4 separate regions of the Homo sapiens genome follow, and regions 2, 3 and 4 are each linked to region 1. Evidence: promoter capture Hi-C in human tissues and cell types (Jung and others, 2019). All regions are on one chromosome and are shown on one strand. The core of a region is centred on a gene start or on the middle of the fragment in contact, and the rest is flanking DNA. Distances in the headings are between cores, read along the strand shown. Region 1 holds the start of BATF2 (basic leucine zipper ATF-like transcription factor 2). Region 2 holds the start of MIR194-2HG (MIR194-2 host gene). Region 3 holds the start of FAU (FAU ubiquitin like and ribosomal protein S30 fusion). Region 4 overlaps VPS51 (VPS51 subunit of GARP complex).

Region 1 (6,919 bases), core at 3,391-5,890:
TGCTGGGATTATAGGCGTGAGCCACCGCGCCTGGCTCATCTCCTCTTTAGACCACTCAATGCCACTACCTATGTGCTATGGACTCTATTGTGTTCCCTCCAAAATTTATGTGTTGAAGCCATAACCCCCGATGTGATTGCATTTAGAGATAAGGCTCTTAGAAGGTAATTTAGATTAAATGAGGTCCTAGGATAGAGGATCGGGTTCTAATCTGATAGGATTGGTGGCCTTATAAGAAGAGGGAAGGAGGCTGGGAGCGGTGGCTCAAGCCTGTAATCCCAGCACTTTGGGAGGCCGAGGTAGGTGGATCAATTGAGTCCAGGAGTTCAAGACCAGCCTGGGCTACATGGAGAAACTCTGTCTCTACAAAAAATACAAAAGTTAGCCAAGTGTGATGGTGCATGCCTGTAGTCTCAGCTACTCGGGAGACTGAGGTGGAGAGGATCGCTTGAGCCTGGGAAGCTGAGGTTGCAGTGAGCCAGGATCGTGGACTGCACTCTAGCCTGGACAACAGAGTAAGACCCTCTCAAAAAAAAAAAAGGAAGAGGCCAGGCATGGTGGCTCACGCCTGTAATCCCAGCACTTTGGGACGTGGAGGTGGGAGGATTGCTTGAGCCCAGGAGTTCAAGACAAGCCTGGGCAACATAGCAAGACCCCCATCACTATTAAAAAATAAAGAATATGAAGAAATAAAAAAGAAAGAATAAATAAATAATAAATGAATAAAAAATTAAAACAAAAGGAGGGGGCCAGGTGCAGTGGTTCACGCCTGTAATCCCAGCACTTTGGGAGGCTGAGGCGGGCAGATCACTTAAAGCCAGGAGTTTGAGACCAGCCTGGCCAACATGGTGAAACCCCGTCTCTGCTAAAAATACAAAAATTAGGTGGGCGTAGTGGCGCATGCCTGTAATCCTAGCTACTCAGGAGGCTGAGGCAGGAGGATCACTTGAACCCAGGAGGTAGAGGTTGTAGTGAGCCAAGTGGCGCCACTGCACTCCAGTCTGGGCAACAGAGTGAGACTCTGTCTCAAAAATGACAACAACAACAAAAATCCCAAAAAGGAGAGGAAGGGAAAGAGATCACTCTGTCCTCTCACATGCACTGAGAGGCCATGAGCACACAGCGAGAAGGCAGCCACTTACAAGTCAGGAAGAGCACCCTCATCTGGAACTGAATTGGCTGGCACCTTGATCTTGGACTTCCCAGCCTCCAAAACTGTGAGAAATAAATGTCTATTGTTTAAGCCACTGTTTATGGTATTTTCAGATGAGCATGAAGCTCAGTAAAGGAAGCAACTTGCAACTGGGACTGGAAACCCTGCCCATTTTAACCCTGAACCAGAGTTCTCACAGTATGGTCTTGGTCACCTCCTGAATTCTGACCCCCAGGTGATTAATCACAAATCACCGTGCAGGTCCCTGGGCCCACCTGGCCTCATGAGGTGGGACCTGGCAGAGGAAGAATAATCCACTTTTTTTTTTCTATAGACAGGGTCTCAATCTGTTGCCCAGGTTGGATGCAGTGGTACAATCATGGCTCACTGCAGCCTTGAACTTCTGGGCTCAAGCGATCCTCCTGCCTCAGTTTCCTGAGTAGCTGGGACTACAGGTGTGCACCATCACGCCCAGCTAACTATTTTTTAATTTTTGTAGAGACAGAGTCTCACTATATTGCCCAGGCTGGTCTTGAACTCCTGGGCTCAAACAATCCTCCAGCCTCAGCCTCCCAAAGTGCTAGGATTACAGGTGTGAGCCACAGTGCCCAGCCTGGAATCTGCATTTTAACCAGTGTCTCAGCTGGCCATTGTGTTGGGGTCTCCCTATTTGCCTCCACTTCCTGTCTTCCTTCCCCTAGACTGCGGACACCTTAGGACACGGCTGGGCTGAGGATGACCCTTTGTGTCCCTGGAGCCTGGTGTGTACCTGGCACATGGTTTGTACTCAACACCCAGAACTTTCCAAATGTCAGCCACAGGATCCTTTTCTCATCCCAAACTCAGGTGACCTAGAAAAATACAGGAGTTTGGGGGAGGTCTGCTCAAAGGTGGGATGGAGAAGAGGTGGCTGGGCCAGTAAGTGGAGCCAGAGACAAGGAAAGGGGTTAGGGGTTGTCCACACCTGGTGCAGGGCGTCTGCCTTGTCTGTGTGCTTCTGCCGGCTTCGCTGGGCGGCTGCCCGGTTCTTCTGCTTCTTCAGCTGCCTTTGTTGCTCCTTGGGGTCCTGTGGGGCATGAGGCAGAGGACTCAGGGGGCCCAGCCAGGCCTTGTGCCCTCCGTCCTGGCCCGCCATTTGTAAAGCCAAGTCTTTCCCCTTGAGTCAAGTTCCCAAGGGTCTTTTATCTCCCAGAAGCTCCCTTGGCACCCACACCCCCTATAGCAGGCACTGCACACCTTGTTGGAACGCCAGCCTCACCCCTGTGTCCTGCTCACCGCTCATGTGGAGGGTGGGAGGGCAAGCAGGGAAGATGGGAAGCCTGAGATTCAAACTCAGACAGAGCCAACTTCAAACCCCACATTCTTTTTTCCTTTTTTTTTGAGACAGAGTCTCACTCTGTTGCCCAGGCTGGAGTAGTGCAGCGGCTCTATCTTGGCTCACTGCAAACTCTGACTCCCGGGTTCAAGCAATTCTCCTGCCTCGGCCTCCCAAGTAGCTGGGACTACAGGCACCTGCCACCATTCCTGGCCAATTTTTGTATTTTTAGTAGAGATGGGGTTTCCTCATGTTGGCCAGGCTCATCTCAAACTGGTCTTGAACTCCTGACCTCAGGTGATTCACCAGCCTCGGCCTCCCAAAGTGCTGGGATTACAGGTGTGAGCCACCGTGCCCAGCCGAGCCCCATATTCTTGAACCCAATCGCCCCATCCCTGCAATGGAAGCACCACAGCAGAGGGTTAAAGCCCATGCGGCAGGCAGCCCAGAGCCGGCGTGCCATAAAGCTCAGCTTCCATTCTTCTCATTGCCATGATTTCCACACCAAGGTGTGAACTTTCCTAACTGTGAGCTCCATGAGGGCAGATGTGGTTCTCTGTGCTCATGCCCAGCTCAAGCCCAAAGCAGATATTCACTTACTCAACAAACATGTATAAGCACCTACTATGTTCCAGGCAGTAAGCTAGAGGGACATGATAGCAAACAAAATACACACAAATCCCTGCCCTGAAATTGCTCACATTGTAGTGGGGTGGTAGCGAAGGATGAATGAATGAAGGGTTTATTCCGGTGGAAGAGTGGACTCAAAGGTTGTGACCACCTTGTACCCTGGGATCAATGAAACTTAGATAAAATATTTTACCCAAATGTCCAGAGCTCTGCAAAGTCAGAGCAAGAGGGACTGTTGGAGAGCTCACAGCCCAGCCCCCGCCCCCAAGTCTCTCTGGGGTATGTGTTTTGAGGGTAAGGACCTCAGGCAAGGCCCTGGCCGCCCTGGCTGCAGATTCTGAATGCTCCTAGGCTCCTGCTCCATATGCTCCCTTGGGCCATGTCCACAGCGGGCTCACTGTAGACACTGGGGCACCAAGAAACTAAAGGCTGAGACAGGACCCACGGTGAGTGAAGGGGGCTCCTGTGAGATAAGCAGAGCCTCCAAGGGAAACCATGGCCCAGGGAATTTATTTATTATTTTACTTTATTTTATTTTATTTTATTTTATTGAGACAGAGTCTCTGTCGCCCAGGCTGGAGTGCAGTGGCGTGATCTTGGCTCACTGCGACCTCCGCCTCCCAGGTTCAAGTGATTCTCCTGCCTCAGCCTCCTGAGAAGCTGGGATTACAGGCATGTGCCTCCACCACGCCCAGCTAATTTTTCTATTTTTAATAGAGACGGGGTTTCACCATGTTGGCCAGGATGGTCTCGATCTCCTGACCTCAGGTGATCTGCCCGCCTCAGCCTCCCAAAGTGCTGGGATTACAGGTGTGAGCCACTGAGCCCGGCCTATTTTATTTTATTGAGACAGAGTCTCTCTCTGTCACCCAGGCTGGAGTGCAGTGACATGAGCTCAGCTTACTGCAACCTCCATCTCCCGGGTTCAAGCAACTTTCCTGCCTCAGCCTCTCGAGTAGCTGAGACTACAGACGTGCCCTGCCACACCTGGCTAATTTTTGTATTTCTAGTAGAGACGGGGTTTCGCCATGTTGGCCAGGCTGATCTTGAACTCCTAACCTCATGTTATCTGCCGGCCTCAGACTCCCAAGGGGCTGGGATTACAGGCATGAGCCGGCCTGGGTTATTTGGAGAAGGAAGGAAAGGCTGCTGTGAGTGTAGTGAGGGGGGACCAGGTACGTTAGGAGAGAGCAAGTACACAGAGGCCAAGTTCTAAACCGAAGGCTGGATCTGCAATGTGAGAGCTGGAAACAACTCATTCCAATCCAATCCCGACTTCGGGGGAGGAAAGTGAGACCCAGAGAGGGGCATGCAGAGCCCTCTGTCACACTGCTCAGAGTATAGAGCTGGGACTAGGAGCTCCCGACTGCAGCCCTCACTGCCTGGGCACTGAGGACGGGATCCCAGCTCCCCTTCTCATCCCCGATCCCCAATCCCCTGTACTCACTGTCTGGGTCAGCAGCCCATTGCCCCCACAGAGGTGCATGGCTTAGGCGGGGGAGCAGAGTGGTCCCTCAGCAGCTGTGACTTCCCAGTGCCCTCTGGAGGCCTAAGGAAGTGGCAGCTCTTTAAATCCCCAGTGGCCACTCCGCCCCCAGAGGGCCAAGTTTCAGTTTCTCCTAAAGCCACCAGCTGCTCAGAATCCCTGGCTCAGGCTTGCTCACGTGGCTAGAATTTCCTAACATGAACTGGCCTTCCGGTTGGGCCCCTTCTCTGGAAAGAGGATGGTGGAGGGTGGAGAGGAGGGAAGACCAAAGGCCAGGTATGAGGAGGGTGTTCTAGGGGAGGGAGGACAGGCGGCCAGGGACTGAGATGAGAGAAGAAGCCAGTGGGGACCGATGCTCATGTGGGGTAGAGAGAGCCCTTGAGCTCTGGAATTGGGGGAACTCTGGATCACAGCACACATTGGAGCTGTCCAACTTTCAGAAAGTGACTCTCCTTCTCTGAGCCCTAGTTTTCTCATCTGGAGGATGGTACAACTACCCACTCCCAGGCTCATTGCAGGAACTAAGCCAGATAATACAACCACCCCCAAACCTTCTGAGACCACTATGGAAGCATGTCTGCAAAATTAAGCAATGGCTGTTGGATAGAACAGATGGATACATTACTGTTTTCATACAACAGACCATGAAGCAGTGGAAAGATTGATGTCCAGTGGTTAGGAGCCCAGCTTCCAAGCTATGTGACTTGGGTTCGTAATTTCATCTGTGTTTCTGTTTCCAAATCTGTAAAGTGGGGATAAAAACAATTTTGTTAGGCCAGATGCAGTGGTTCATGCCTGTAATCCAAGTACTCTGGGAGGCCAAGGCAGGAGGATTACTTGAGCTCAGGAGTTTGAGACCAGCCTGGGCAACATAGCAAGACCTTATCTATATTAAAAATAAAAAAAATAACTGGGCATGGTGGCACACACCTGTATTCCCAGTTACTCAGGAGGCTGAGATGAGAGGATCACTTGAGCCCAGGAGTTCAAGGCTGCAGTGAGCTATAATCTTGCCACTGCACTCCAGCCTGGGCAATAGAGCAAGACCTTGTTTCAAAAAAATTAATTAATTAAAAATTAAAAAATAAAGACCTAGCAAACCCTGAAGCCCCGGGCATACCTGCATGCTTGTTGTATCTCTAAGAGGGACACTTGGATGGGGCATCTGTTTGGGGGCCAGAGGGGCCAGTAATTCCTGTCCAAGAACAGCATGCATGCAGTATGTAGAGTCCTATGGTCTGGTGACTAGAGCATCTTGGAGTTGTACCTGAGACCTGAGGGCTCATGGCTGATGATGTGGTATCACAAGAATGGCAAATACAGATATGATCTTCTGATAGGTGATGGTGGCTGGAATGTTGTTTTAAAGAGTTCATGGACACCTCTGAGCTTAGTAAAAAAGAGTACTGCAGTTGATTAGCAATGTCTGCCACACCATGATCGATTAGTGATGCCTGTTATGGGCAGAGGTGTGGAGAGTGCAGTCCCCTGCTATCCCTAGAACCAGGCATAAAACAAGTCTGGGTTTCAGAGACAAAAGACTTGACTCTCCATCCTGGCACTCCACTCACCCAGTTTATCACCTGGAGCCTCAGTGTCTTCAAAGATATGCTGGTGATCACAAAGAAATGATACCTATTTGACAGTTGTTTTGAAGATGGGAAAGAATGAGATGAGAAGAAAGCTCTTGGGATATTGTAAAGTACTATGTGGCAAGGATTCCCCCTCCTGAAATTTGTGGTGTCATATTCTGGATTCTAAGATTATTAATGCAGGCTCCTAATTTAAAATGCCTGGGTGGGTGAGATTGGGCATAAGAGCTGGGCCTTGCCCTCCTAGCTTCTGAGGGGCCTGGGAGCAGAGGCGGAAGTGGGATGCCCCACGCAGTGAGGCCATCCCTGTTTCTCTGAATTATTGTTTCCTGGAAACCAGGAAGGCTGGGGCGTCTTGCCTGAGGCAGGCACCTGAAGGGCTCATTAAGCCAGCCCATGAGCTCCCCTGGGAGGATCTGCAGGCACCTTGTGCATGATGTGACTACGAAGAAACACCCGTGTGTGCTTGTGTGTGTGTGTGTGTGTGTGGAGGGGCTAGGCCTGAGTGTCCCACTCCAGATCCCAGCCCCTGCCCCAGACCCCCAGTCTTTCTTCTCCAGACCCTGGCTTCTGGCAGAGGTGAGACAGCAGGTGTAGCTCTTCCCAGAACACCACAGCCCTGGGAGAAGACCAAAGAAGGCAGCGTTTATGGCTCCCTGAGGAGGCAGCTGGGAGAGGGAGTGGCAGGGAGGGAGGGAGGTAGGGTGGGTAATGTTTAACTAGGAATGGCTGTGGGAGACTTC
Region 2 (7,472 bases), core at 3,534-6,033, 100 kb before region 1:
GGGGAGAGAGACAGTGTCTTAGGGGCCAGATGTTTGTTGGCTGCCTACAGTCCCCAGGAGAAGGTCCAACTTGCTCTGTGACTTCAGCAAATGTGCACCCTCTCTGAGCCTGTGTCCTCCTGTCCCAAACAGGTTCATGATGGATGCCAGGAGGACCAGGTCCTGGATGTGCGTGCCCAGCAGACAGAAAGGGCTCAATAGCCAACGCCTGTTATTAAGCAATTTGACATTTATTCCTAGGTCTCTATTTCCCATTTTACAAATTTTATTTTGTAGTACCAGAAACCTTTTTATTCAAATGAAAAATTCTGACAGGGCACAGTGGCTCATGCCTGTAATCCCAGCAGTTTGGGGGGCTGAGGCAGGACTGCTTGAGGCCAGGAATTTGAGACCAGCCTGGGCAACATGGTGAAACCCCATCTCTACGAAAAATACAAAAATTAACCAGGCATGGTGGCACGTGCCTGTAGTCACAGCTATTTGGGAGGCTGAGATGGGAGGACTGTGTGAGCCCTGGCAGGTGGAGGCTGCAGCAAGCTGTGATTGTACCACTGCGCTCCAGCCTGGGTGACAAAGCGAGCAAGACCCTGTCTCAAAAAAAAAAAAAAAAAAAAAGGAAAATTTCCTCAGAACCCCGTTGTATAAGAAACAGGTGGGGCTGGGCGCGGTGGCTCACACCTATAATCCCGGCACTCTGGGAGGCCGAGGTGGGCAGATTATCTGAGGTCAGGAGTTCGAGACCAGCCTGGCCAACATGGTGAAACCCAGTCTCTACTAAAAACACAAAAATTAGCTGGGCATGGTGGTGCATGCCTGTAATCTCAGCTATTTGGGAGGCTGAGGCAGGAGAATCGCTTGAACCCAGGAGGCAGAGGTTGCAGTGAGCTGAGATCATGCCAGGAGGGGAGGCTTCCTCCTGGGAGGAAGCCTGTTGCATTCCAGCCTGGGCAACAGAGCAAGACTCTGTCTCAAAACAAACAAACAAACACCACAAAGAAATAGGTGGAAATGAGGCTGTTGTGGGAGGCGGGACAGGGGTGGGGTCAGCTGTCCTGTCCTGGGTTGGCTGCTCTTCCTCTACCAGCAGCTGGGGTCCTGGGCCCTCTTAGGAATCCTAGGGGCTGGAGAAGCTGCTCCACCAACCACAGGGCTGTGCTCCAGGGAGATGAGACTGGCAAAGGAGGGGAGAGTAGGAAGCAGATGGGGAGGCTGGCTCAGGGCCCCATCCTGGGTGGGGGGGCTCCAGCACAAACACTGGGCCTAGAGCACTCAGCCCCCCTTGGCCACACTGCATGTCGGTGGGTGCTTCCTCAGGGTGCAAGACAGAGGCTCAGGATTGGTTCAGCAAACATTTATTGGGCACGCGCCTGGGCTGGGAACTGAGCTCACAGATGGGGAGAGGAGCGAGACATAAGCAGAAACCAGCACCGGGGCTCCGAGAGGGCAGTGCTCTGCGGCAGCACTGTGTGGGGGTGCCCAGGTGGGGACTTAGAAGCTTCAATAAGGCCTTCTGGAGGCAGCAAATGCTTGGACAGAGCTTGAAAGGGTTAGTAAGAGTGAGCCTGGCAAATAAGCTAGGAAGAGTATTGCAGCCCAAGGGAACAGCATGGGCAAAGCATAGAGGTGCCACAGGGCAGGCAGGGCAGGGGCAGGACTGAAGCTGTTCAGGCTCATTCACGGGGAATGAGACAGAGGGAGGTGGGACCATGAGTGCTGCACTGGGGTCGCAGGATCTCTGCTGACTGCTGGACACCCCCGGCCCTCCCCTATCCCTGCAGGTCCTGGTGGCTGGCATTGAGGCGAACATACCTGTGACCTATGGAATTGGCAGCCAGAGGGGAGACGAGAGCACTGGCTGTCAATTCATAGGTCAGAGCCCTGTGCACTCGGTCTCGGCAGCCCACCGACAGCCCTCCACTACCCGCCACCATCTGGCCTGGGAGCGTCGCCACGGTAGTCCTGGCTGGTCTGCTGGCCAGCACCTGCCTCTCCTTCTTCGTGGGTACTGGCCCTCGCCCCAGATAACAGCAGCCCCACTGGAACCAGTGGGCACTTCCACATGGAGTTGCTGTTACAGGGGGCGGGAACCAATTGGAGACCGGGGCCCTGCCTGGCGTCCGCCTTCGGCAGGGCTCTGGAGAGTGTCCCATGCCCACTCACCTGGGCTCCCCAGTCTTCGTGGCCCCAGGTCCATGGTCTTTTCACCGAGGCTTCTTATCATCCGGGGCCCACACCTGGCGCCCCGTGTGCTGCCAGCACTCCTTCCTGGGCAAAGTCCAGGCTCAACCCCAAATCGGCCTCATAAAGCCGGGAGCGGCTCGGATTTACAACTCCTGGGCAGCCTTTGCCCGCTCTGATGACCCCACGCCCTCTGTCCCCAAGTTATTTTGTTTCCTTGTTTCTTTCCCAACCAGAGCTGGGCCTCAGTTTCAGGTTTGGCCACTGTCACCTCTGCCCTTTGCCCACCCTCCCTGCTGCAGCCATGGGGCAGAGAGACAGCAAGGGACAGCTGGCACTTGTCAGTCCCCAGGGACCTCCCAGTGCCTGATTTCATGAGGATGGCCTCGTATGGGAAGCTGAAGATGAGACTAAGAAGAAGTGTGGGGGGCTGTGTGGGGGAGGGCACAGAAAGAGGGATAGTGAGGCAGAGGGGCTGAGAGAGGAAGAGAAGAGTAAGGCCGAGGATGGCGGTGCACACCTGGCATCCCAGCACTTTGGGAGACCAAGGTGGGAGGATCTCTTGAGCCCAGGAGTGCAAGACCAGCCTGGGCAACACAGTGAGACCCCATCTCTACAAAAAATAAAAAATTAGCCTGGTGTGGTGATGCATGCCTGTGGTCCCAGCTACTCAAGAGGCTGAGGCGGGGGATCACTTGAGCCTGGGAGGTCGAGGCTCCAGTGAGCTGGGATTGTGCCACTGCACTCCAGCCTCAGTGACAAAGAAAGACCCTGTCTCAAATAAAAATAAGAGGAGCAGGTAGAGAACTAGAAAGGAACAGAGAAAACAAACAGGGATAGTGGATGACGAGGTGTAGGAAGGGGGACGACAGGGAACTGGAAAAGATGTAGATACACAAACCTGCCGCAGAACATGAGGAACAGGCTGTGAGCAGTGGCTCGCCTGGAAGGACGCTTAGGACCTCAGTGGCCTGGAAGACAGCAGGGGCCTGGGAGCTGGGTGACCTTGAGCAAGTAGCGTAACCTCTCTGAACCACTGTCCATATGTCAATCAGGACTTACGAGGCCACCCTGCACGCTGGGCTGGCCTGGTGGGAAGCATCCGCCCTGGGACCCTTGGGTCTCTCTCCGCTGTGGGGAGAGGAAGCAGCTGCTGGCCAGGGTCCCTGAGTGAGCCCAGGGCTCTGTGAGGCAGAGCTTCCTCTTGCAAAGCGTGTTCTCGTCCCTCCCAGACAGGTTCCGGTGACAGGTGCCAGTCCTGCAGAGACCCAGCAGGCATTTTGGGAGACTCCAAAGCTTCTGGAGAGAAAGGGGAGCTTTTAGAGTAGACTTGGGCCCTGCCCCCTTTGCCAGTGGTGCATACAGGCCTAGAGAGACAGAGGGGGCCGCCCAAGGTCACAGAGCAGGGCCCCAGGGCCTGTGCTGCCCCAACAACCTTCCCGAAGTGGCGTCCCCCCTTCTCAGGATGCAGTCAGGGTGGGATGGGGGATCCCTGGGCTGGAATCCTTCTGCCTGGGGGGACAGACCTGCGAAGGAAGACACCGTAGCTGGTGGCTGGCCCTCCACTCAGCCTGGCGGCCCTTCCCACAGAGGCCTGGGCGAGACCAGCCTCCTGCAGCGTGGTGTCCAAGTGCCCTGGCCTGGCAGAGACAGCGCCCGATCAGGAATCCTGGCTCCACAGCTCTGAGCGCTGATGCTAAGGCCCCCTTATCCCACAGTGGAAACCAAGGCACAGAGAGGAAGGGGCTCGTCCCGGCCACCCCATGGCTGTCCAGGTCCCTTTCTTCCTCAGGATTGGCCACCCTTCAGAGAGGTGCCTGGGTTCAGGAGCCTCCTAGGACAGGGAGGGCGGCAGGGGTCCTACCACTCAGGAAGCCTCTTACCTGAGTGCCGGGCTGGCCTTCGGGGCACAAGGAGGAAGTGGGGACACCCTGGGCCCAGGGCCTTTTGAGCCGTTGACCCAGCCCCTGGTGGTGGTTAATGATTATCCCACCACCGTCAATACTGATCACAAGTGCGGTTCGAAGGGCAGGAAGCCCTGGACTGTGCCCGGGCAGGGTGGGGCGGGTCCAGGAAGCATCAGGCTGGGCCCCATCTGCCTCTCCGGGTGGCATCAGCACCGAGTCTCCACAGCCCTGTCTCCTCCAGGGCCTCGCCCTCCTGGTCTCTTACCAGCCTGCTGCCCCAGCTGTCCGTGGGCAGCCAGGACCCCAGGGTCCCTCGGGACAAAGCTTCTGCTCTGTTCCCAGTACCCAGATCTCCCCCACTCAGAAGGGGCCACAGAGCAGGGCTGGGGGACCTTTGCTAACCCCAGAGGCCTGCGGAACCTAGCAAGGTGAGGGTTCCCTGATTCCCAACCCGAGCCTTGGTTTCCCCATGGACCCACCCACCTCTGTGCAGCGCCACTGGGAAGCAGGGCAGGGAGGAGCGCGATGGGAGCAGCTCACAAGAAACAAGATGTGTGGGGGGCAATGGGCGCTCCCTGGTCCTGTGTAAAGCTTTGTGCAGTGAGGGTTGGGATTCCGGCTGCAGCGCTGCTCCAGCACCCCTCCCCCCTCCAAGTGCTGGAGCTGGGACCCCAGATCAGAGTGGAAACCAAGGGGCCAAGGCCTGGGCCACCCCAAAAGCCCCCACTAGGGATGGTGAGAGCAACATCTAGAATGCCTCAGGCTCAGCCTTCCCCGAGTGGCCTCAAGTGACAACCAGGCAGGGTCAGCTGGGCTCCAAGGACCATCCCTCCCTCCCCTGGCAGCCCCACGTAGCTCCTGCCACATCAGGAGTGGGGCTGGAGTGGCAGCCTCCTGGGAGGGGCAAGGCAGAGCCCAGAGCCAGGGGAAGGCGTGCAGGGCTGGGTGCCTCTGGGTCCCCCTGTGCCCTGATCTGCTGGGCAAGGCCAGGAGGCATGGCGACCCCTGGTGGTGACATGGGAGGTGCTGGGTGCAGAGGTGGGATCTGGGGCGGGGCCAAGGTCAAGGCTGAGGCCAGGGTTCACAGGGACAGAGGATCTGAGAGGGGGGCTGGCGGTGGGCAGTTTATTCCACTTCATGCAGACACTGACCCACGCACTCACGGAGCTTAAAAATAATACATCGAACCACACGGATATCATCCCCTCCTCCCCCCAGACACAGAAAGACACTTGGCTGAGTGGGATGGGGTCCGAGGGTCCAAAAGCCTCCGTCCTGGGAGAAGGCAGCAGTGTGGGCCCAGGTCGGGGGAGGGGCAGTGTCCTTTCTCCCCGGAGGAAAAGTGCAGAGCCAGGGCTAAGGCCCCAAGGCAGGGAGGCCCCCCTCTCACAGCAGATTGGCAACGGGCAGGCTGGGAAGGCGTCCTTCACAGTGGCCATCCCCTGAAGGGCCAGGCCGGGCCGGGCCCGTGGGCTGCAGCTCTTGGGAGGCTCAGGAGCATGGTGGGCAGCACCCTCTGGGTGCCGGGCACCCCAGGCTCAGTCTTGGGCACTGTCCGAGCGCCACTTGAGGGCGTGGTCCTTGTGGGCGTCGGGGACAATCTGGTTGCGCATGCCCCCGAGCAGGCTGGACGTGGCCTCCGTGGCCAGGATGAGCGGCTTCACCACAGTCGGGGGCAGCTGGCGGATCACGCCCCCCACGGCGCCCGTCAGCCCCTTCTGCTCATGGCCCCGCGATGCCACGTCACAGATGGTCTGAGCTGTATCCAAGATGCCCTGTGGAAGCCAGAGGTCAGGGCGGGGTCTGTGTGAGGAGATGGGCATGGGGGACTGGGGCAGGGCGGGGGCCTGGTCACCTCTCGCACTGTGTCGTAGGCCTTGGCCACACCCTCCCGCAGGTCGGCAGGCTGCTGGCCCCTGCGCAGCCTCCGCGCAGAGCGCTTATCCTGCAGGGAGCGGGAGACGGGGGCTGCCGGGGACAGGATGTCATACACGGTCTCAGCTGTGGCCTGGGGGACATGGGAGCACTGGATGAGGACAGCTGGCTGGGGCACACGTCAGCCCCAGGCCCCCAGGACAGTCTGAGACCCCACCAGCCCTCAGCCTCCCTGCCTGTCACTGTGCTGGCCTAGGGGGTCCTGCTCAGCCTCACTCCCCACTTCCTCCCACTCTTCCTCCCCTTCCTAGGCACCTGCCACTCTGCTGAGGGAACCTAGGAACGTGGGACTCCTCAGGGGACTTTCCTAAAGTCTTCTCAACCCAAACCTCTCTTCCTGCTGACCACCACATTCAGCAGGTTCCACATGGCTGCCGCAGCTGCACGCCTGAGACTGACCGCTCCTTGCCTGGCCCCCCAGACGCCCCTGCCAGATGGTCAGAGGCCCATCCTTCCTTCTGTCTGCCAGATCCTCTGCCCAGCATCTCACCTGGCATCACTCTTTCCCACCTGACTGAACACTCCCGGGGGCTCCCTGGTGCCCATGCATCCCTCCCACCTCCCCTGGAGCCCTGCCCTCTGTCCTGTTGGGGTCTGAGCTTGCAGGTTCCAGAATGCACCATGCACCTGCACTCACCCCTTAGCCGCCTAGGACCATCGATCCCCTACAGAATTCATCTGACAACTGCCCACGAGACTGGCTCCCCAGCTTCCCTGGGGTCCTTCTGGCCTAGCGAAGCGTATGGCCTGAATGAACCAGGGCAGCCTCTGCGCCTCAGATTCTTAGTCTGCAAACACAGCCGTCCTCCACCCCCCTTTACAAGACATGCCATGAGCAGGAGACACAGTGGGCTCTGAAGGCCTGGGGGGCACTCCCGCTCCTGCATGGGAGCCCCTGTGGGCCTCGGGAGACCTGGCTTGGAGGTCCCAGGCAAGTCACTTAGCCTCTCCGTGGCTGTTTCTCTATAAAGTAGGGCTGTCATACCCAGACTGCCCACTCTGAGGAGCTTTGAGGACAGAACCAGGGAGCTGTGGTGCAGAGGGCTCCAGCTGCTCTGTCCTGCACAGCCCAGATACAGGGCACCCACTCACCTGGATAGCCTGTACCAACCGGTTGCTGAGTTCCAGGGCGGCAGAGGCTGTGGATGAGCCAAAGGAGGCAGCCCCTCGCTGCAGCCCCCGCATGAGGCGGCCATCCTTCCTGTACTGCTCAATGGGCAGCCACAGCAGGTCCCGGAACCCTTGGACTAGGGGGAAGGAGCGCTCAGAGACACCCGAGGCTGCCCTGCCCCCACCTCCTCCTCTTATTCCCAATGGCAGCTTCTAGGTTGCCCAAGGGTAAAAGCAGTTTCGAGGGCTTCCAAACCTAGACACTCACAGAGCTGGACAACCGAGTGCATGGGGCCCACGCCTCCCAGCAGGCCGGGCAGCTGGTTCTTGCGGATGTCCTGC
Region 3 (4,739 bases), core at 1,488-3,987, 130 kb after region 1:
GGCCGAGGTGGGCGATCACGAGGTCAAGAGATCGAGACCATCCTGGCCAACATGGGGAAACCCCATGTCTACTAAAAATACAAAAATTAGCTGGGCGTGGTGGCACATGCCTGTAGTCCCAGCTACTCAGGGGGCTGAGGCAGGAGAATGGCGTGAACCCGGGAGGCTGAGGTTGCAGTGAGCTCGGATTGTGCCACTGCACTCCAGCCTGGCGACAGTGCGAGACTCTGTCTCAATAAAATAAAATAAAGAAAAAAGAAAAACAAAAAAAGAGGCCCTCTCTGGGATGCTATTGTATCTGTCCACATCCTCCCCCTTTCTAAACTGCTGGAAGGCAGAAACCATGTCTTTAACACCACAGAGACAAAAATAGCCAAGATTCACACACTCACTGTAAGCCAGATGTTGATTTACATCCTTTAACCCTCACAGCAGCCCTGGAGATGGCAGAGATTAAATTAGTAGTTAGTTCAAAGGCCAGCCACCCAGTAAATGGAGTAGGAAGAAAAAGAAGGTCCAAACTCAGGCAGTCAAAGTCCACAGCCCAAGGGCTTTACCCTGTTGGATGCTATTTCTCAAGAACTGGCAGGTCCAGAAACTTTAGCTGAATGAGTAAGTGGGGTTCAGAAGTGCTGGGAGGCTCAGTTGCCAGAAGAGAACCCTGAATCAGCCCCAGAGGTAACCCAACTTTTGGGAACACTGAAACCTCACTATATCCAATCACAGATGTGATTAGGTTACCAAGTCCGGCCAGGCAGTCACAGAGGTACAAACGAGGCCATGCTCCCAACATAATATTTACTTCTAAAACCAAGGCAGACCAGATTCCTGCCCTGGACTCTAAGGCCACAGCTGGTACCAAGTTCAGGGAACGGCCAGGTTCACCTTCTATACAAACCTCTTCCCCCACCCATCCCTTCTATTGCTGCCTCCATAACAAACCTCTCACCACAGTGATTCCTGCTACCTTCTCTGTTTAGAAGATGAAAAAGAATGACCTGGGGGGACTGATCAAGTTACTTAGGATAGGGAATAACCCCAATTTTACATCTGAAGCCCCCCAGGATCTGTAGCTGTTTCTTCACAGGAAATTTCTCTTGTAGTTTACCATTTCTTCCCCCCATACCAAAGGCTTCTGCCTTTTCTGCCTCACTGTTCTCCTAGGGGACATACCACCAACCCGAGAAGCACACCTCTCCCTGAGGCCTTGCAAGTAAAGATGAAACAATGCGATGACTGAACTAAGTGGCTTTTTTATTAGAGAAAGCCAGAATTACAAAAGACTTAAGAGTTGGCATTGGGGCCCTTCTTCTTGCCAAAGGTGGGCACAACGTTGACAAAGCGCCGGTTGTACTGCATCCGCCGCTTAGCCCGACCTGTCTTCTTCTTCTTCTTCTCCTGTTTGGCCACCTGGAGAAGGGAAGGTTAATCAGGCCCTGGTTCCTGTCTTCCACACCTAGCATCCCTTCCCTCAGGCTCATCTCCAGGGAGGGAGAAGGCAAACCGAGTAAGAGCCCAGGGACTTGGTTTAGCTGTGAAAGGAAAAAAAGTCCTAACACCATGACCACTAATACTCTCACTCACCTTAGGAGTCTGACCTCTCACTTTTCCAGCACGGGCCAGGGAACCATGGACTTTACCTGTAGTGGGAAAGGAAGGCACCAGCAGGTAAGAGCAAGAAGGTGCCACCCAGCAGAACCCCTCTTTTCTCAATTCAAGCCTTTAAAGAGAAGCTGCGCCCAATAGGTAATGAGAACAAAGTTGCAGATATTTGACCTTGAAATCTTAAGTTTCATTTCAGGATCTTCCAGCTTCTAATTTTATAGAGCACTTTGGGGGCCCTGGTCTGACCTAATTTTAGTGTGGAAGCTGATAACCAGACTAGGATCTCGTGATGTGACTGAAATACAACTACACTCTGGCTCAGTCTCCCATGGACGTCTGTGTTCAACATGAGGGATGTAAACAGGAAGAATCACTCTGAACTGAAGACAGTGAGAAGTACTCTATTACCATAGGTGTGACACTCAGCTGTCAGGACTATGCACCCCACACTCACTAGACGCTTACCGGTACTTCAAAGAACATTCCTCTCTCACTCACCTCCAAGCATGCGGCCTGCTACTTCCAGGGTAGTCAGGGCCTCCACCCCGCACTGGCCCAGAGTGGCCTCATCCTCCAGGGGCGCGCCTGCCAGGAGCACGACTTGATCTTCCGGGGCAATGCCCTCCAGTGAGGCTACATGAGCCTACAGGGAAAGATAAGGCTCGTAAGCGTTCCCTCGGGCCGCGAGAGTGAAGAGCACAAGAAAATGGAACCCAGGGCGCACCAAGCAGCCTTACCTTGATCTGGGCGACCGTTTCCTGGCCGGTCACCTCGAAGGTGTGTAGCTCCTGGGCGCGGACAAAGAGCTGCATATTGGCGACTGAGTAAAGAAAAGACGGCTTGTAAGAGAAGCCAAGAAATGCTCTGGGATAAAGGAGATTTGGGAGTGGAAAGCGGTCCAGAAACGATCGCGACGGGATGGTGGTCGCGGCGGCTCACGTGGGGAAGGCCAGGCCTCCCAAGGAGTTCGGATAGGGACTGGAGCAGGGCCACGGAGCAGGCCCCGTTCTTCGGTTCCCCCCGCGCCTTCTGACCCCGCAGCCAACCTGCTACAAGCCCTTCGGATCCAGCCAAGGCCCCATTCTTACCTGAACGGCGGTCCCAGCTACCGCGAAGATGGAGTCGAGAAAGAGGAAGAAGCGAGGGCGCGTCAGTACAGACCGTGGGCTGCGTGTCACGTCACTGCTGAGCGACCGCGCGGTTCCCTGCTATTTGTACCGCCCAAGGCAGTCCTAGCTCCGCCCCTTTACGCTCGCACCGGCGAACCTGCCTGGGCAGGCAGCTCGCGCAGGACGGGGCGGGACCAGACAGTTGCGCGCACAGAAGGCTGGCGTAGCAGGTAAAGATGGCAGCTACCATGTTCCGGGCTACGCTGCGGGGATGGAGAACCGGTGTCCAGCGGGGCTGCGGGCTACGGCTGTTGGTGAGAGCGCTGAGCGAGGAGCTGAGGGCATCGCGTGGGTGTGAGGCTCAGTGTTAATCATTGTTAACCCCGAAAACTAAGGCATTCCTACTTGGGGCCTTAGTTTTGCCGTTTTCGATCAGGAGAACTTGTCCCGAGTGTACATATAGAATCGAGAGGGAAAATGGTAGACTGGGGTGCTCTTTGGGAGCACTTAACACAGTGCCTGGCAGTGTCTATATAAGCCACAACGTTTCAGGTAAGGGGCGGGGTCCTAGCATATGAGTGTGCGTGGGGAATTATGATTGCCTTAATTCTTTTTTTTTTTTTTTTTGAGACGGAGTCTCGCTCTGTCGCCCAGGCTGGAGGGCAGTGGCGCGATCTCGGCCCACTGCAAGCTCCGCCTCCCAGATTCACGCCATCCTCCTGCCTCAGCCTCCCGAGTAGCTGGGACTACAGGCTCCCGCCACCATGCCCGGCTAATTTTTTGTATTTTTAGTAGAGACGGGGTTTCACCTTGTTAGCCAGGATGGACTGGATCTTCTGACCTCGTGATCCGCCCGCCTCGGCCTCCCAAAGTGCTGGGATTACAGGCATGAGCCGCCGAACCCGTCTGATTGCCTTAATTCTTAAGGCAATCATAAGATTAAACATCACTATATCCCGTCACAGATGTGATTAGGTTAGCAAGGCCAGCCAGGCAATCATGGAGGTACAAACAAGGCCACGCTGCCAATATAATAATATCTATTTCTAAAACCGAGACAGAAAGTTAAGCCTTAAGTTTCTAAAGGCTTGATTGACTTTTCAGAAGTGTACATATACTCTTTTGCATCCCACAGAAATCCTGAGAGGCAGACCATTCAGAGTACCTGAGCCTCCTTTCCATCCCATCTGTACCCTGCACCATGGAAAACCAAAGACTGGTGCTATCTTATGTCAACCTAAATAACAGACTCTAAAAGAAAAGGATATTTATTCGGGAATGGGTATAGACTATGTGCTTATCAGGGAGGTAAAAGAAGACAAAGGTTTTTAACAGAAAAATGGGCCAGGCACGGTGGCTCACGCCTGTAATCCCAGCACTTTGGGAGGCCAAGGCGCGTAGATCACCTGGAGTCAGGAGTTTGAGACAAGCCTGGCCAACATGGTGAAACCCGTCTCTAGAAAAAATACAAAAATTAGCCGGGTGTGATGGCGTGTGCCTGTAGTCCCAGCTACTTGGGAGGCTGAGGTAGGAGACTTGCTTGAACTTGGGAGGCGGAGGTTGCAGTGAGCCGAGATCACACCACTGCACTCCAGCCTAGGTGACAGAGTGAGACTCTATCTAAAAAAATAATAAAAATAAATAAAGGAAAGGAAAAATGAGTATTACATAATTGTTTTGAGACAGTTATCCTTGGCTACAAGGATGAATAACATGGGTGGTGCCAGTTCAAGATTGGACAGGCAGTTGTTGGACAGATGGCCATGCAGGAATTTGTTTTGTTTTGTTTTGTTTGAGAGAGTCTCGTCGCTCTGTCACCGAGGCTGGAGTGCAATGGTGCGATCTTAGCTCACTGCAACCTCCACCTCCTGGGTTCAAGCAATTCTCCTGCCTCAGCCTCCCAAGTAGCTGGGATTACAGGCATGCACCACCATGCCCGGCTAATTTTTGTATTTTCAGTAGAGATGGGGTTTCGCCATGTTGGCCAGGCTGGTGTTGAACTCCTGACCTTAGATGATCCTCCTG
Region 4 (7,566 bases), core at 2,887-5,386, 110 kb after region 1:
CCAAGGGTTACAGGGTTTCTTTAGGGGATGATGAAATGTTCTGGAATTACGTAGTGAGGTTGGTTGTACAACCTTGTGAATATATTAAACATATTAAAAACCACTGAATTGGTATGTCAATTATATCCCAATTAAAAAGAAAACCAGGCATTGAGCCAGATTTGGCCTGCAGGCTGTAGTTTGCCAACCTCTCACCTAGACATTGAGTTTCATTATGTAATAATGCATTTACTTGTGTCAAAATTAGAAAGATCTCAAACATTATACAGGGAAAAGCCTCTCCTAATTCTTTTCTCTAGGCAAAGACAAAGCAGTCTTTGACAGTACATTTCACTGAAAATTAACAGAGCCCAGGTGGGATTATGGCTCATACCTATAATCCCAACACTTTGTGAGGCAGAGGCAGGCAGATTGCTTGAGCTCAGGAGTTCGAGACCATCCTGGCCAACAGGTTATACCTGTCTCTACAAAAAATACAAAAATTAGCTGGGTGTGGTGTTGTGTCCCTGTAGTCCGAGCTGCTCAGGAAGCTGAGGTGGAAGGCTTGTACCTGGGAGGCAGAGGTTGCAGTAAGCCAAGATTGTGTCACTGCACTCCAGCCTGGGTGACAGAGCCAGACCTTGTCTCAAAAAAAAAAAAAAAAAAAAAAAAAAAAAGAAAATTAACAGACATACAGAAAAGTGCACATAAGTGGACAGCTCCATGGATTTCACAAAGGGAGCACAGTCACATAATCAGCATCCAGGTCGGGAAACAGCATAACCAGCAAAGCCCCCTGAGCCTCCTACCAGTTACCACCCAGTCCCCTCCCAAGGTAGCCAACATCCTCGCATCCAGATGGCTTTCACTCTCCCTGGTTACAAACTGCTTTTCTTAACAAGCTTTTTTTTTTTTTTTTTTTTGAGACAGAGTCTTGCTCTGTCATCCAGGCTAGAGTGCAGTGGCCCAATCGGCTCACTGCAACCTCCGCCTCCGGGGTTCAAGTGATTCTCCTGTCTTAGGCTTCCAAGTACCTGGGATTACAGGCACCTGCCACCACACTTGGCTAATTATTGTATTTTCAGTAGAGACGGGATTTCACCATGTTGGTCAGGCAGGTGACCTCAGGTGATCCACCTGCCTTGGCCTCCCAAAGTGCTGGGGTTACAGGCGTGAGCCACTGTGCCCAGCCTGCTTTTCTTAACAAGCTTGAAATGCAAAGATAAACAGTGTAGTCTTTGTGACTGAATGGTGTGGATGCTTTCACTGTTGTTTTTGGATATGGTACAACTTTTATCTCCAGTGTAATGGCTCCATGGCTGGGAAGGCAGCGACAATGACAGCACACAGCACTGTTGGGTTTTCTTTTACTCTATTTTCCTAACAACTTAGTGTTTGGATTTTACCCTTTAGAAGTTGGATTCAAGCTTCCTTCTTGAGGTAGCCCCTAAGTGTCATGGGCTCAAACACCCACTACCAAAAGAGTCTGCTCTTTTCATGGTAGCTTTTGGCAGACCTGGAAGGAGATTGTGTCACATGGCCTGTAAACAAAACCAGTAATTCACTGGGTGAAGACCAAATGCCTCATCAACTGCCAAGCCTCTGTCTGTCTCCCTTAGATCAGTAGCCCATGATCCCTTTACGAACCTCAGCCTCGGCTCTGCTTTTATTGTTTTTCACTGCATAGCGCTGCCTTTGCTATGTCCTTTAGTTCACCATCTATGAATTGGCAAGAAAAATTTTCTTGCCAGGCACAGTGGCTCACTCCTGTGCTCCCAGCACTTTGGGAGGCTGAAGTGGGAGCATTGCTTGAGCCCAGAAGTTTGAGACCAGCCTGGGCAACATAGAGAGACCCCATCTCTACACAAAATTTAAACAAAAATTAAAAAATTAGCCGGGTGTGATGGCGCTTGTGTGTAGTCCCAGCTACTTCAGAAGCTAAGGTAGGAGGATCACTTGAGCCCCAGAGTTCAAGGCTGCAGTAAGCTGTGTTTGCACCACTGCATGCCATCTTGGCTCACTGTAACCTCCGCCTCCCCAGTTAAGGTGATTCTCCTGCCTTAGCCTCCTGAGTAGCTGGGATTATAAGTGTGCATCACCATGCCTGTAGACAGAGCAAGACCCTATCTCAAGCAAAGAAACTCAAAATAATTATGATTTCCCCAACAAAATGCAGGCAATGGTCCCTATGGTCCCAAAAGTAATATAGATGTTTCACATCATGTGATTTTATTCCTTAGTAACCTTCCTTTCTATGAAATCATCTCTAAGAGGGCTAAATGATCCTTTCTTGTGGACTGTGTTGTTAAAATGAAAAGTCCATTTTGCTGATACGTAATCTACCTTTCCATGTAATTTTTTAAAAAATCCCTTAATAGCTCTACAGATGTGAGCCCTGTAGATTCTTTGTCTCAGACAGTTCTTTCTCTTATATTTTCTCTAATATTTTTTTCCTGCATTTTTTGTTTCTGTTTGTTTCTTGTCAAATTGACATCAATGCTTTTCTCCTTACTCACCCTTCCAGCTGTCTCCCCAAGTGGGGTAGATTCCCAGTGTTGCTTGGAGAACATTCCTACAGTCCCAGAGCCACACACAGACCAGGTGTGGGTGTGTGAAGGCTCACAAGTGATTGCAGTTAGATATTTCCAGATTCTTCTTTGTAAATGCTGATCAGTTTGCATAACCACCAGCAAAGAAGAGAATACCTCTTTCAATCTTTGACAATCTGAGAAGTGAAAAGTGGTATCTCTTATTGTTTATAGTAACGTTTACAGGGTGTTTTTTTTTGTTTTTTTTTTTTAGGGCTTTCTATTTATTCAATTATTATTATTTGAGACAGAGTGTTGCTCTATTACTCAGGTTAGAGTGCAGTGGCACAATCTCAGCTCACTACAACTTGTGCCTCCAGGGTTCAAGCGATTCTCCTGCCTCAGCCTTCCCAGTAGCTAGGATTACAGGCACCTGCCACCACGCCCAACTACTTTTTGTATTTTTACTAGAGACAGGGTTTTACCATGTTGGCCAGGCTGGTCTCAAACTCCTGACGTCAAGTGATCTGCCTGCCTCGGCCTCCCAAAGTGCTGGGATTACAGGCATGAGCTACCGTGGCTGGCCTATTTATTTGATTATATCATCTGCAAATAGTGATACTTCTCCCTCCTTTCCAATTTGTGTATCTCCATAATACATCTCGTGACTCTAGCTGAGTTGGCTAATGCCCCAGAACAATGTAGATAACATTGGCAATCAAGGTTGTCCTTGCCATGTTTTGACTTTAATTGGAGTGCTTCTAGCACTGCCTCGGTAAACATGATACTGAGTTTTGGAGGTCAGGGAAATATTTAGCTGCTCATATGTTATTGAGAGTTTTTTAAAAATCAAGAATAGATGTTGAAATATCTATTAACATGGCAAATTATTATGAGATCCTCTAATTTTGAGTCATCCTGGCATTCATGAAACAAAAACCCTTTTGTGTTTATCAATTATTATTTTAATATGCTGCTGGATTTTGTTTGCTTATTTGTGCATCTCCATTTGTTTATTTAATTCATCCTTGCATCTCCATTCATAAGAGATATGAATGTGTATATGTGAGGTATTTCTGTTATGTTTTCATAACAGTGTTATGTTTGTTCCATCAAGTTTGTGTGAGAGCTGTTCTCGTTTCTCTGCTGGGGCAGTGTTTACACAGAGAATTGGAAGGCGCTGTCCTTCAAGCCGCCGCAACACCCCTGGACATCTGGGCCAGATGCCTTTGTGTGGAGGGGAAAGGGGAGTAGGACCTTTCTTTCACAACATTCTCTAGTTTTTCTGTTTCTGTTTTCTTGTTTTTTGCAATCCATTTTGGTAAATCCTATTTTTGTAGCAAATTATCCATTTCATCCATAGAATTCACCAAGCCCTTACCAATTTAGTGTTTTCTTGGTATTTTACCCATGCTGCAATTTCAGTTTTGATTTCCTTTTCTGACCTCATAATTGGTTAACAATGAGGTTTTTTCGACTGGGCACGGTGGCTCCCGCCTGTAATCCCAGCACTTTGGGAGGCCGAGGCGGGTGGATCACTTGAGGTCAGAGACCAGTCTGGCCAACATGGTGAAACCCTCTCTACTAAAAGTACAAAAATTAGCCAGGCATGGTGGCACGTGCCTGTAATCCCAGCTACTCGGGGCTGAGGCAGGAGAATCGCTTGAACCCAGGAGGTGGAGGTTGCAGTGAGCTGAGATCGCGCCACTGCACTGCAGCCTGGGCGACGGAGGGAGACCCTGTCTCAAAAAAAAAAAAAGAATGAGGTTTTTTTCTTTGTGATCTACCATATGGAAAGGTTTGTATATATTTTATGGCATTGTTTGGGAAAAATGCAAACTGTGTGCTTCCTATGCTCTCACATCACCACAATCATGACCACAGAAGAGTTCTGTGACCAAATGTGTTGGGTTTCTTCCCCACACACCAAGCAGCAGACACCCGCTGGGTGTCCTCTGATTTAATTCCAACACTATTTACCCAGAGATAGCATCAGATTCCATGAGTTGAGGGCTGAGTCCCCAAGCCTGCCTCCCTTCAGGCACTAGTTCAGTCCCAAATCTGCCTCCCCACTTTCAGGCACTAGCTGCAGGTCAGGGCCTCAGGCCTCCAGAATTTCTGACCAACTGGCTCCAGGTAGGGGTTTCCATAACTCCCTCTTTGGGCTCAGTTTGCTGGAGTGGCTCACAGAGCTCAGGATAACACATTTACCAGTTTATTACAAAGGATGTTACAAAGGGTACAGATGAGCAGGTGCATAGGGCGAGGTGTAGGAGAAGGAGCATGGAGTTTCCATGCCCTCCCCGGGCGTGCCACCCTCCAGGAGCCTCCAGAGCTGAGATCGCGCCACTGCACTCCAGCCTGGGTGACAGAGTGAGACTCTTTCTCAAACAAAACAAAACCAAAATATCTCCTGTTACAGATACACATTTCTGTCTTATCCTCTTCGCCTTTCTTTATGAACATTGTTGGTATGTTCAATGGAATTAGGGAAATTAGTTGGGAAATGTTGGCAGTTGTTGGACAAGAGATGATAGTGGCTTACAAAGAAAATGTTGCAGGTAGACCTTCCATGACTTGGTAATGGATTGATTACTAGGTATATTAATCCAGGTTCATACTGCTGTAAAGAACTGCCCGAGACTAGGTAACTTATAAAGGAAAGAGGTTTAATTGACTCACAGTTCACAGCATGGCTGGGGAGGCCTCAGGAAACTTACAATCATGGCAGAAGGTGAAAGAGAAGCAAGGCATCTTCTTCACAAGGCAGCAGGAAGGAGAAGTGTTAAGCGAAGCAGGGAGAGCCCCTTATAAAACCATCAGACCTCGTCGGGTGCGGTGGCTCATGCCTGTAATCCCAGCACTTTGGGAGGCCAAGGTGGGCGGATCATGAGGTCAGGAGATCAAGACCATCCTGGCTAACATGGTGAAACTCCATCTCTACTAAAAATACAAAAAATTAGCTGGGTGTGGTGGCAGGCACCTGTAGTCCCAGCTACTTGGGAGGCTGAGGCAGGAGAATGGTGTGAACCTGGGAATTGGAGTTTGCAGTGAGCAGAGGTCGTGCCACTGCACTCCAGTCTGGGCGACAGAGCGAGACTCAGTCTCAAAAAAAAAAAAAAAGAATAGGTGGAATTGAATTGAGGCCGTCAGTGAACAGTCAGGAACATTGGAAGGCTCATCCATGTGGATGTGCACAAGGAGGTGACAGGAGGAGGAGAAGAGGCAGTGATGGGGAACTGAGAGGAGTGTCAGAGGACAGTAGAGACAGCAAAGAGGAGGGTTGTGGCTTGATGGCATGGTCTTCCTAGAAGCCGGGGTTTTGAAGAGAGGAGATCTAGGCATGATTTAGAAGCATGAAGGGACCAGGCTCCCAGGCACCTGGTGTGTGAAAGGAAAAACAGCCTCCCTAGGCAGGATTCTATCAGGACCAAAGGGAAAGGGCCCTTCAGAGAAGACAGCCCATGTTCCGGAAAGCATGTGAAAGGCTTTGGGAGGTCTGGAAAGGAGATGAGGGTCAACAAGAATGTATTGCCTCATCCAGGCAGTGCGCTGGACACGCAGATGCGCTTGGGAGCCAGCGGTCCCTGCCTTGGCTGCTTGTGGTCTGATGGAGCAGTTGAGGCACAGTGGTGGCAGCTGGCTAAGCACCTGCGGCCTGCTTCGGATCTGGACTAATTCTGAGGGCCGGCTCTCCTGGGCACCAGGGTTAGGGGGTTACGGGGAGTATGTGAGTAACGCCTGCTTTGGGAACATAAACCCCCTCCCCCGCCCCCATGTGCGCTGTGACCCACGCCCTCGCAGTCCTTTCTCTGGAATCATCCATGCGCCCCTGGAGCAAGCTGGGGCGTCTGTGAAGGGGTGGGTGAGAAGGAGCTGAGGTTGCGCCCGCCCTGCAGTCACCTGCTCTCCCCTTTTCCCCGCCCCTGCCCTCCTAGACACCATCCGGAAGATGAAGAACGATTTCCGGAAGATGGAGGATGAGATGGACCGGCTGGCCACCAACATGGCAGTGATCACCGACTTCAGCGCTCGCATCAGCGCCACGCTGCAGGACCGCCACGAGCGCATCACCAAGCTGGCAGGTGGGCGCTGCCGGGCAGGGCCTGCAGTGGGCCTTTCCTGGGGCTCTGGGGCTAACGTCACCCTCCGTCCCCCAGGGGTCCACGCGCTGCTGCGGAAGCTGCAGTTCCTCTTTGAGCTGCCCTCGCGCCTCACCAAGTGCGTGGAACTGGGCGCCTATGGGCAGGCGGTGCGCTACCAGGGCCGCGCGCAGGCCGTGCTGCAGCAGTACCAACACCTGCCCTCGTTCCGCGCCATCCAGGACGACTGCCAGGTCATCACGGCCCGCCTGGCCCAGCAGCTGCGGCAGCGCTTTAGGTGTGGCCCCTCTGCCCTGACCCCAGCGCTCCCGCCAGCCCCGAGCCCCATCTGTGCCCGGCTCCTGGGCCCTCCTGGAGCTGTCCCCCTGCCCTGTGTGTGCTTTGCTTTCCTGCTCCTGCCCCATCCACCGGCAGCCCCGGCCCTGCCCTTCACTACCTCTCCCTCGTGCAGGGAGGGCGGCTCAGGCGCCCCGGAGCAGGCAGAGTGCGTGGAGCTGCTGCTGGCCCTGGGCGAGCCTGCGGAGGAGCTGTGCGAGGAGTTCCTGGCGCACGCCCGCGGCCGGCTGGAGAAGGAGCTGAGAAACCTGGAGGCCGAGCTGGGGCCCTCACCTCCGGCTCCCGACGTGTTAGAGTTCACCGACCATGGAGGCAGTGGCTTCGTGGGCGGCCTCTGCCAGGTGGCGGCGGCCTACCAGGAGCTGTTTGCGGCCCAGGGCCCAGCAGGTGCCGAGAAGCTGGCGGCCTTCGCCCGGCAGCTGGGCAGCCGCTATTTTGCGCTGGTGGAGCGGCGGCTGGCGCAGGAGCAGGGTGGTGGTGACAACTCACTGCTGGTGCGGGCGCTGGACCGCTTCCACCGGCGCTTGCGGGCTCCCGGGGCCCTGCTGGCCGCTGCCGGGCTCGCAGACGCTGCCACGGAGATCGTGGAACGAGTGGCCCGCGAGCGCCTGGGCCACCAC

The links. Contacts are between HindIII fragments. The study calls those that stand out against the background at their distance.
Region 2: a fragment that was not itself captured here is called in contact with the fragment with the promoter of BATF2 in region 1 in 6 of the 25 tissues and cell types used here (H1 embryonic stem cells, dorsolateral prefrontal cortex, lymphoblastoid cells and 3 more).
Region 3: the fragment with the promoter of FAU here is called in contact with the fragment with the promoter of BATF2 in region 1 in 1 of the 25 tissues and cell types used here (lymphoblastoid cells).
Region 4: a contact is called between a fragment that was not itself captured here and the fragment with the promoter of BATF2 in region 1, in 3 of the 25 tissues and cell types used here (dorsolateral prefrontal cortex, lymphoblastoid cells and mesenchymal stem cells).

What each region holds. Positions count from the first base shown.
Region 1 is chr11:64,992,331-64,999,249 of GRCh38, forward strand. It overlaps BATF2 (basic leucine zipper ATF-like transcription factor 2), which reads right to left and starts at 4,641. Exons shown (of 3, transcript NM_138456.4): 1 at 4,546-4,641; 2 at 2,118-2,219. The coding sequence starts at 4,584. RefSeq lists an enhancer at 4,040-4,540 and a cis regulatory region at 5,785-6,919. The HindIII fragment of the contact is 29,477 bases long and covers 1-6,919 here.
Region 2 is chr11:64,889,350-64,896,821 of GRCh38, forward strand. It overlaps ATG2A (autophagy related 2A), which reads right to left. Exons shown (of 41, transcript NM_015104.3): 38 at 7,399-7,472; 39 at 7,113-7,267; 40 at 5,941-6,093; 41 at 5,197-5,860. The coding sequence ends at 5,624. It overlaps MIR194-2HG (MIR194-2 host gene), which reads right to left and starts at 4,100. Exons shown (of 3, transcript NR_133640.1): 1 at 4,062-4,100; 2 at 3,241-3,477. MIR192 (microRNA 192) reads right to left here and starts at 1,897; the gene lies at 1,788-1,897. It overlaps MIR194-2 (microRNA 194-2), which reads right to left and starts at 2,090; the gene lies at 2,006-2,090. The HindIII fragment of the contact is 4,598 bases long and covers 2,485-7,082 here.
Region 3 is chr11:65,119,397-65,124,135 of GRCh38, forward strand. FAU (FAU ubiquitin like and ribosomal protein S30 fusion) reads right to left here and starts at 2,738. Exons shown (of 5, transcript NM_001997.5): 1 at 2,694-2,738; 2 at 2,343-2,425; 3 at 2,104-2,248; 4 at 1,585-1,640; 5 at 1,234-1,410. The coding sequence starts at 2,417. The coding sequence ends at 1,285. MRPL49 (mitochondrial ribosomal protein L49) reads left to right here and starts at 2,925. Exons shown (of 4, transcript NM_004927.4): 1 at 2,925-3,028. The coding sequence starts at 2,951. RefSeq lists enhancers at 2,696-2,785, 2,946-3,215. The HindIII fragment of the contact is 8,684 bases long and covers 2,310-4,739 here.
Region 4 is chr11:65,101,136-65,108,701 of GRCh38, forward strand. It overlaps VPS51 (VPS51 subunit of GARP complex), which reads left to right. Exons shown (of 10, transcript NM_013265.4): 3 at 6,446-6,592; 4 at 6,668-6,887; 5 at 7,062-7,566. Among named protein-coding and RNA genes, the nearest start is that of TM7SF2, 7.0 kb to the right of the region's middle. RefSeq lists a silencer at 1,102-1,396. The HindIII fragment of the contact is 6,205 bases long and covers 1,035-7,239 here.